Regions from separate parts of the Homo sapiens genome. Here regions 2 and 3 are each linked to region 1. The links are contacts of gene promoters, found by promoter capture Hi-C in blood cells and fetal thymus (Javierre and others, 2016). All regions are on one chromosome and are shown on one strand. The core of a region is centred on a gene start or on the middle of the fragment in contact, and the rest is flanking DNA. Distances in the headings are between cores, read along the strand shown.

The links. Contacts are between HindIII fragments. The CHiCAGO score rates a contact against its expected background, and 5 or more counts as called.
Region 2: a fragment that was not itself captured here is called in contact with the fragment with the promoter of UTP14A in region 1 in 15 of 17 cell types (activated CD4 T cells, naive CD4 T cells, non-activated CD4 T cells and 12 more); the score reaches 20.1 in activated CD4 T cells.
Region 3: a fragment that was not itself captured here is called in contact with the fragment with the promoter of UTP14A in region 1 in 10 of 17 cell types (activated CD4 T cells, naive CD8 T cells, total B cells and 7 more); the score reaches 10.6 in activated CD4 T cells.

Annotation. Positions count from the first base shown.
Region 1 is chrX:129,904,401-129,907,653 of GRCh38, forward strand. UTP14A (UTP14A small subunit processome component) reads left to right here and starts at 1,764. Exons shown (of 15, transcript NM_006649.4): 1 at 1,764-1,836; 2 at 2,967-3,042. The coding sequence starts at 1,811. LOC105373335 (a long non-coding RNA gene) reads right to left here. Exons shown (of 3, transcript NR_188631.1): 3 at 2,864-3,253. The HindIII fragment of the contact is 20,573 bases long and covers 1-2,196 here.
Region 2 is chrX:129,624,178-129,627,430 of GRCh38, forward strand. No RefSeq gene overlaps it. Among named protein-coding and RNA genes, the nearest start is that of APLN, 29 kb to the right of the region's middle. The HindIII fragment of the contact is 5,685 bases long and covers 1-3,253 here.
Region 3 is chrX:130,175,121-130,178,373 of GRCh38, forward strand. The region is part of intron 1 of RAB33A (RAB33A, member RAS oncogene family); the gene reads left to right. Among named protein-coding and RNA genes, the nearest start is that of RAB33A, 4.8 kb to the left of the region's middle. RefSeq lists an enhancer at 1,462-1,531. The HindIII fragment of the contact is 857 bases long and covers 1,240-2,096 here.

The DNA of each region.
Region 1 (3,253 bases), core at 514-3,013:
CACTTGAAACAGGGAGGCAGAGGTTGCAGTGAGCTGAGATTGTGCCACTGCACTCCAGCCTGGGTGACAGAGCGAGACTCCGTCTCAAAAAAAAAAAAAAAACAAAAATTAGCCAGGCGTGGTGGCGCATGCCTGTAATCCCAGCTACACGGGAGGCTGAGGCAGGAGAATCACTTGAACCCAGGAGGCGGAGGTTACAGTGAGCCAAGATCGCGCCACTGCACTCCAGCCTTGGCAACAAGAGCGAAACTCCGTCTCAAAAAAAAGAAAAGAAAAGAAAAGAAAAGAAAAGAAAAGAAATCAACAGTTACTAAATGCCACACAAAGTTCTGGGAAGCCAAAGACTGAGAGGTATCCGTTTTATTTAGCAACTTTGGGTGTCGCTGATCTTGTCCAGAGCAATTTCTGTGGAATAATGGGGCAAAAGCAAAATGGGAATGGATTACAAGAATGAAAAGAACGGGCCGGGCGCCGTGGCTCACGCCTGTAATCCTAGCACTTTGGGAGGCCGAGACGGGTGGATCATGAGGTCACGAGATCGAGACCATCCTGGCTAACACGGTGAAACCCCGTCTCTACTTAAAAAAAAAAAAAAAATTAGCCGGGTGTGGTGGCAGGCGCCTGTAGTCCCAGCTACTCAGGAAGCTGAGGCAGGTGAATGGTGTGAACCCGGGAGGCGGAGCTTGCAGTGAGCTGAGATCGCACCACTGCATTCCAGCGTGGGCGACGGAGTGAGACTCCGTCTCAAAAAAAAAAAATGAAAAGAATGTTCTTGTCTATTATTTTTCTACAATCATTAATTAATATATATATATATTAGGCCGGGCCCGGTGGCTCACACCTGTAATCTCAGCACTTTGGGAGGCCGAGGCGGGCAGATCACTTGAGGCCAGGAATTCTAGACCAGCCTGGCCAACGTGGCAAAACCCCGTCTCTACTAAAAATGCAAATATTAGCCGAGCATGGTGGCGGGTGCCTGTAATCCTAGCGACTCGGGAGGCTGAGGCAGGAGAATCGCTTGAACCCGGGAGGTGGAGGTTGCAGTGAGCTGAGATCACGCCATTGCACTCCAGCCTGAACGACACAGCAAGGCTCTGTCTCAAAAATAAATAAATAAAATTCTTAAAAGTTGATGGGAGAAAAAAAGTTGTTTAAAAAAATTTTTTTAAGTTGATGGGAGGTGAGGAAGCGTAGTTACTGATGGCCCCTTCTTGGATAAAAAAAATCTTTTGACTCAGGAAATGAAGAACAAAGCTGCAATTACAAGGGATCAAAGGCGATTTTTCCTTAAATGGAAGGAAACTTGTTATGTTCACCATCGGATCTCCGGGGCCCGGCACAATCTGGCCACTTAATAGGCATTCAATAAACCCCCGAGCTGGCTTGTGGTCGGCTTGCAGGACGCCGTCGCACAAGGACGGGCGCTGTAGTCTTTCCTTCTGGATTCTGCAGTGACGAATGAAGGCGCGGGCTCAGCCCCTGAGAGCGCAGCACCGTCGCCCTAAGCTAACCCACCTTGGGCCACGTGGAAACCAGGGGCCAGGAGGACAGACACCCGCGCGCCAGAGAAATACGGGGTGGGTGGAGAAAGGAATGCCCCACCCGCTGACAGCCGTTTCATCTCAGGCCTCCCAGTTTTCTGCAGGCCCCTCCCTACACGGCTCCTGCTTCTCTCACGCCTCGTACGGAACGGAAGTGACGTGTACGTCGCGAGCGATTGACGGAAACAGAAATTGCTTTGCGGCCCGCACGGAAATTGCTTTCCTTCGGCTTCCGTTCTTGGTCCATGTGAGAGAAGCTGGCTGCTGAAATGACTGCGAACCGGCTTGCAGAGAGGTGAAGGGCAACGAGGGGAGGGGGGATTCTGGGTCTCGTTGGGGGCCGGGTTCCCCAGCTTTTGGGAAATGGGAGCCCCCCCTTTAACAGATGGCAGTGGTTCCCCTGAAGAGCTGGCCATTCGTTCCTATTTTCCGCGATCCAGCCTTTAAAGCCCTTTTAATTTAATTTCATTCGCTTACTCCGCTCCTCAGCTGTATAGCCGCATCCCTGTTGGTCCTGATGCTGTTTCTGCCTCCCCAGCTCATTTACTGTGTTTCACATTTTTCGTCACGTGGCCCCTTTTTCTGCCTCTGTCGCGGCCCGATTTAATCCTCTGCGCAGGCAGTGCAGGCGTTATAAACTCCCCGAATCTTGGAAAGCTTTGCTGATTGGAGTCATCCACCACGTTTTGGCTCCTGTGATGTTTTGTGCCCCCCCCACCCCGCCCCCGGAACTAAATGTAGTCCGTTTAGTAATGTTGGCTTTGCAAATACTAATAATATATGCTGTTAGGTAATGGTACATTTTATAATTTGTTTGTGGGTACCAATCTCCTTAGTTAAGCACCTACTTTACTAAGCAAGCCCCAGGGAAAGTGGCTTACCCAGCTGCTTTCGACCTGTTTCTCCATTCCTGGGAACAAGGATCAAGATAACACTTTTGATTAGGCTGCCTATCAATGAGTCAAATATATGGAGGATGCTTAGAAATATTAATCGTGAAACTGCCTTGCCTCCAGGGCTAGCTAGCAACAGCGTCTTTGGCCATATTATTCTAGGGTCTGACATTTTTACAGCTTCCCATAGGTCATAGGAAATGTTGTGCCAATCCCTGAAAAGTGATAGCTCTTTTACATGCAGTTTTGAAGTCAGGCATCACTCTTGGAGGTGATGCCTGACTTCAGTCTAAATTTCACATCTTGACAAGTTTCCAAAGGCATTCACGCTGCTTTATATATCTTCTGAGGGATAGGGCTATTCTGTGCTGAAATTACAATGTTTTCGAGATTGTTTTAATAGATTAGACATTGCTTCAAATAATAATATTTCTTTTTTTAATTTCGACTTTTATTATAATTAAGGGATACATATGCAGGTTTGTTACATGGGTATATTGCATTCACATTTCTCTGTTGCCTCTTTTAACAGCCTTCTGGCTTTGAGCCAACAGGAAGAACTAGCGGATTTGCCAAAAGACTACCTCTTGAGTGAGAGTGAAGATGAGGTGGGTGACAATTGCTAAACTGCCTTCAAAATTAGGGTAGAGAGCACATTCCTGGAATGGAAGGGTGTGACAATGTTCTATGTATTTGTTCAGGTCTCTCAAATAAATTGCAAATGGTTAGTGTTTCATATATAAGATACTGTATCATATTAAGTGCTATGAGGATTTGGAAACTAAGTTACAATCACTACCCTCAAGTTGCATAAGTATA
Region 2 (3,253 bases), core at 538-3,037, 280 kb before region 1:
GAACAATCAAAGATGACTCAAAATGTTTCTGCCTGACAAGAGAAAGGCATAAAAGTCATCCAAATAAAAAAGAGGACATCGGGCCAGGCGCAATGGCTCACGCTTGTAATCCCAGCACTTTGGGAGGCCAAGGTGGGTGGATCACGAGGTCAGGAGATAGAGACCATCCTGGCTAACACGATGAAACCCCGTCTCCACTAAAAAATACAAAAAAATTAGCCAGTCGTGGTGGTGGGCACCTGTAGTCCCAGCTACTCTGGAGGCTGAGGCAGGAGAATGGCGGGAACCCAGGAGGCGGAGCTTGCAGTGAGCTGAGATCACGCCACTGCACTCCAGCCTGGCTGACAGAGTGAGACTCTGTCTCAAAACAAAAAAAGAACATCGAATTATCTCTATTCATTGACAATATGACTCTACACCTAGAAAATTCTAAAGATTTCACCTAAAGACTGCTAGATCTGATAAACAACCTCAGTAAAGTTTTAGGATACAAACCAATGTACAAAAATCAGTAACATTTCTATATGTCAATAACATTCAAGCTGAGAACCAAATGGAGAACACAACCCCATTTATAATAGCCAAAAAAAGAATAAAATACCTAGGAACACAGCTAACCAAAGAGGTGAAAGGTGTCTACAAGGAGAACTACAAAACACTGCTCAATGAAATCAGAGAAGACACAAACAAATGAAAAAAACATTCCATGCTGATGGATTGAAAGAACCAATATTGTGAAAACGACCATACTGCCCAAAGCAATCTACAAATTCAATGCAATTCCTATCAAAATGCCAACATCATTTTTCAAATAATTAGAAAAAATAATCTTAAAATTCATATGTGTATTAGCCTGTTCTCACTCTGCTAATGAAGACATACCCAAAACTGGGTAATTTATAAAGAAAAAGAGGTTTAATGGACTTACAGTTCCACATGACTGGGGAGGCCTCACAGTCATGGTCGAAGGTGAAGGAGGAGCAAAGGAATGTTTCACATGGTGGCAGGCAAGAGAGAGCGTGTGTAGGGAAACTCACCGTTATAAAACCATCAGATATTATAAAACTTACTATCATGAGAACAGCATGGGAAAAACCCGCCCCCATGATTAAATTACCTCCCACCAGGTCCCTCCCATGACATGTGGGGATTATGGGAACTAAAATTGAAGATGAGATTTGGGTGGGAACACAGCCAAACCGTATCAATATGGAATCAAAAAACGGCCAGAATAACCAAAGCAATCCTGGGCAAAAAGAACAAAGCCAGAGGCGTCACATTACCTGACATCAAATTATACTACAAGGGCACAGTAACCAAAAGAGCATGGTGCTGGTACAAAAATAAATACAGACACATAGACCAATGGAACAGAATAGAGACCCCTGAAATAAAACTGTACACCTACAACCAACTGATCTTCAGCAAAGTGGACAAAAATAAACAATGGGGAATACCCAATAGGACACCCTACTCAATAAATGCTGCTGGGAAAACTGGCTAACCATATGCAGAAGAATGAAATTCAACCTCTACCTGTTACCGCATACAAAAATTAACACAAGGTGGAATAAAGACTTAAATGTAAGACCATAAACTATAAAAATCCTAGAATCAAACTTAAGAAATACTCTTCTGGCCATTGGCCAAGGTAAATAATTTATAACTAAGTCCTCAAAAGCAAATGCAACAAAACCAAAAATTGACAAGTAGGACCTGATTAAACTAAACAGCTTCTACACATCAAAAGAAGCCATCAACAGAGTAAACAGACAACCCACAGAATGGGAGAAAATAGAGGCAAACTATGCAAACAACAAAGGACTAATTAATATCTGGAATCTATTAGGAACTTAAACTCATCAACAAGGAAAAAAACAAACAACCCCATTAAAAACTAGACAAAGGACATAAACAGACACTTCTCAAAAGAAGACATATGAGTGGCCAACAAACATATGAAAAAATGCTCAACATCGCTAATCAGAGAAATGCAAATCAAAACCACAATGAGATACCATCTCACACCAGTCAGACTGGTTCCTATTAAAAAGTCAAAAATAACAGATGTTGGCGAGGTTGCAGAGAGAAAAAAAACACTCATACACTGTTGGTGGGATTGTAAATTAGCTCAGCTCCTGTAGAAAGAAGTTTGGAGATTTCTCAAATAACTGAAAATAGAATTACAACTTGACCCAGCAATCCCATTACTGGGTATGTATCCAAAAGAAAATAAATCGTTCTACCAAAAAGACACATGCACTCGCATGTTCATCGCAGCACTGTTCACAACAGCAAAGACATGGAATCACATCAGCCTTGGTGCCCATCAGTGTGACTGGACAAAGAAAATGTGGTATATGTACACCATAGAGTACTATGTAGCCATAAAATAAATGAAATTGTGTCCTTTGCAGCAACATGGATGCAGCTAGAGGCCATTATCCTGAGTGAATTAACACAAACAGAAAACCGAATACCACATGTTCTCACTTATAAACAGCAGCTAAATATTGGGTAAACACAGATATAAGGATGGGAGCAATAGACACTGGGGACTCCAAAAGGTGGGAGGGAAGGAGGAGGGCAAGGGTTGAAAAACTACCTACCAGGTGCTATGTTCACCGTTTGGGTGATGGAATCAATAGAAGCCCAAACTTCAGCATCACACAATATATCCATGTAACAAATCTGCACATATATCCCCTGAATCTAATGTTTTCTAAAAAAAGGTTTCTGCCTCAGCCACATGGGAATTGTCATGTACTGCCATTTACTTCAAAGGGACCAGGTATGCAGGAGGAGAGGATCAGGCAATCAGTGCTGGTCACATTATGTTTGAGAAGCCTATTGGACATCCAAAGGGAGATGATGGATAGGCAGTTTAGTACATGAGTCTGGAGCTCAAGGGAGATGCCTATAACTTTCCTATTTTGTTGTTGTTATTGTTTGTTTGTTTGTTTTGTTTTGAGACAGAGTCTCGCTCTGTTGCCAGACTGGAGTGCAGTACCACAATCTCAGCTCACTGCAATCTCCGCCTCCTGGGTAAGTGATTCTCCAGCCTCAGCCTCCCGAGTAGCTGGGACTACAGGGGTGCGCCACCACACCCAGCTAATTTTTGTAATTTTCTTAGAGGTGGGGTTTCACCATGTTGGCCAGGATGGTCTCGATCTCTTGACCTCGTGATCTGCCCACCTCGGCCTCCCAAAGTGCTGGGATTACAGGCGTGAGCCACCACGCCCAGCTCCTGTGT
Region 3 (3,253 bases), core at 418-2,917, 270 kb after region 1:
TCCCATTTTATAGATAAGGAGACTGAGGCTAAGAGAGATGAAATAACCCAGTGGCACATGGATCTGAGCTTCAGCCTTTGACTCTTGAGCCCAAGCACTTCGCCACCTCACTATCCTACCTTTCCTGTTACAGGGCCACGATTTCAACCCAGATTCAGAGACCATGCCCTTTACCACTGCATTTCACTCTACAGGACAATATTCAGTCCCCTAGATTGGGGGAGTTTGACAGGGGGAGATAGAATGCCAGGCAGCCAGTCTTGCTCTTTCTTCTAGGCCAGGGACTTAGGGTTATAGCCCAAGGCCCCCAGGAGCCTTTCAGATGTCTCCTTCAATTTGTATCCAGGACACACAGAACTCAACTGGGTTTACTTTTTTTTTTTTTTTTTTTTTGAGAGGGAGTTTCACTCTTGTTGCCCAAGCTGGAGTGCAATGGCACGATCTCAGCTCACTGCAACCTCGGCCTCCTGGGTTCAAGCAGTTCTCCTGCCTCAGCCTCCTGAGTAGCTGGGATTATAGGCACCTGCCATGATGCCCAGCTAATTTTTATATTTTTAGTAGAGATGGGGTTTCACCATGTTAGCCAGGCTGGTCTCGAACTCCTGACCTCAGGTGATCCACCTGCCTCGACCTCCCAAAGTGCTGGGATTACAGGCGGGAGCCCTGGGTTTACTTTTTGCACCTTGATTATCTCAACTCAGGTGTGAGATGCAGAAAATGTTCAGAGATAAAAGAGATGTTACAGATTCTGTGATCCAGTGTCCTCCTCTTGCAGATAGGAAACTGAGACTCAGAGAGGGAAAGTGACTTGCCCAAGATCACACAGGGCCAGGCCTAGAACTCATGTCTCCTAATTCCCTTTCTGGTGCTCTTTCCACACATCATGCTGCCTGGCACAAAATCCTCTCTCCAGCCTAGCTCCATGGTCCATCCAACCCACAAGGCCACCTATGACAAGAATCCAGAGGGACATCATAAGAGATAGCTGACAGTCTTTCCTGACATCAGCCTAGGAAGGGTGGAGGCATCCCCCAGCCCCCAAAGGAAGAGTGGAGCTTCCCTTAATGACTATGATGTGTCTGTCACCTACAGATGTAGCTAAATTTATTGAGTCTGTCTCCTAAATGCATTGGAAAATGCCGAATAGGGGTGTGTGTGTGTGTGTAGAGAGGGAGGGTATGTAGTAGAGGGGAGGCTAAGAAACTAATTTTTGAATCATTCTTTGTATATTTGCATGGAAGCTTCACTTCTGTCTATAATAGTTTGGTTCCTCCCACAGGCTGGGCACTCCCTGTGCCCCAGCCCTGGGGACAAGACAAACTGCAGGTCAGCTGTGGCTATGGGCAGGTACAGCTCAGGACTGTGAGTTTCTGTTCCTCTACTGATCACTGGGGGAAAAAAAATACCTTCCTGTGTTACATTATCAAGTGGATGGAGGCTGAGCTAAGTGTTCCTTGGAAGCTGCCTGCAGTCAGAATGACATCATTTCTTCCTTAGGGCTTCTGAGCTTCTATCTTCTGCCAGTTAACTTAATGGTTAATTATCCATCAGTGTAAGTTTCTCTGTCTCCCTTGCTGCTTCTTTCTGTGTGTGAGTTTCTCTTTGTCTCTGTCCTCCTTTGCCATTCTCTGTGTCAGCTTTGTGTGTGGATCTTAGATGCAGATGGGACAGTCCAGCTAGTTGAAAACAGGTTTCTTTTAAACTTTTCCCATCATCCACTGGGGCATGCTCCAGAGGTTACAGATGTATTTGTCTCCTTTTTTTGCACTTCTACCCTCCCCCATCGGCCTCCAACAAAAGCACATTCATGCCTCATCTATAGAAAGATGCCAGTTAATGTTTCCTAGGGAAAAGAAATCCCCCTGTCAGCTAAGAGCACATGCAGGGGGTTGGGGGCTTGCTGAAGCTCGCCCAGAAAATAGTTCAAAAGGTTAGATATCTCTTTGGCAGTTCCCCATGCTGTGCCCCTCCATCCTCCTCCAGCACCCCATCAGTTCGGGCCTGCCCCCGGCCACCCATGGCATGTTGCCAGTATTCCTCTCTCCACCCCCTCCCCACTGGATGGCCTTTAGCTCTGTCTCACCTTCGAGAAGCCAAGCTTTCTGTGATTTCCAGGATGAGAGACCAATGGACCCAAGGAACCATACCAACAGGAGAGGGCTTGATGGCCTTTCTGAGACCAGAGCAACAACTAATATTTGCAGAGTGCTTGACATTTTCCAAAAGTCCTTTCTCATGTGTTATTTCACTGGATCATCCCAGCAACCATAGGAGGATCAAGGTCCCATTGCAGAGATGAGAAAAACAAGGCTCAGTTCAGGGAGGTTAAAAGACTTGTCTGGCATTTACTCAGCTTCTGAGCAGAAGAGCTGGGATGCTTGCTGCCTTTCCAACAGTGCTTGCTCAAGTTGTTGCCCATCTAGACTTAATGGTGGAGGTTTCAGGCCATGAAAGAAGGGAGAGTGTATATTAGGCACTGGGTCACATACTTACAAGGACTACTAATCCTCATAGCATCCCTACCTGATTACTATTGTTATCATCACTTTCCAGATGAGGACACTGAAGTCAGAGAAAGTAACTTACCTAAGGACACCTAACTTATCTAAGGACACCTAACAAGTCATGTACTAACATGACTTGGGCCGAGATCTGCACCCAAGTTGATTTGACTCCACTATACCCCATTGGCCATCTGACAGAAACAAGGATCTGGGGTACATGTATGTGGCTGTGGCTAAGAGGCAGTCTTCACCCCCATCCACTGTATGGATATGGTGCCCACAGGAAAGGAGGAAAGGGTGAGAGGAGAGGCAGCTGCGAAAGAGGAAGGAGATGCTTTCACTGCTTGGCAGGGGCCAGGGGTTTATGAAGATGCTGAGAAAGGAACACCTAACTCTCAAACAAAATGAGATCACTGCTAGGTAAGGTGGCTTGCCAGCACTTTGGGAGGCCGAGGCAGGATGATTGCTTGAGCCCAGGAGATCCAGACCAGCCTGGGCAACATAAGGAGGACCCCATCTCTATGAAATAAAAAAAATATGAAAATTAGTTGGGTGTGCTGGTGCGTGCCTGTAGTCCCAGTTACTCCGAAGGCTGAAGAGGGAGGATTGCTTGCGCCTAGGAGGTTGAGGCTGCAGTGAGCCATGATTGCACTGCTGCACTCCAGCCTGGGTGACACAATGAGATCTTGTCTGGAAAAGAGAGAGAGAGAGAGAGAGAAAGAGACCAGGCGTGGTGGCTCACACCTAGA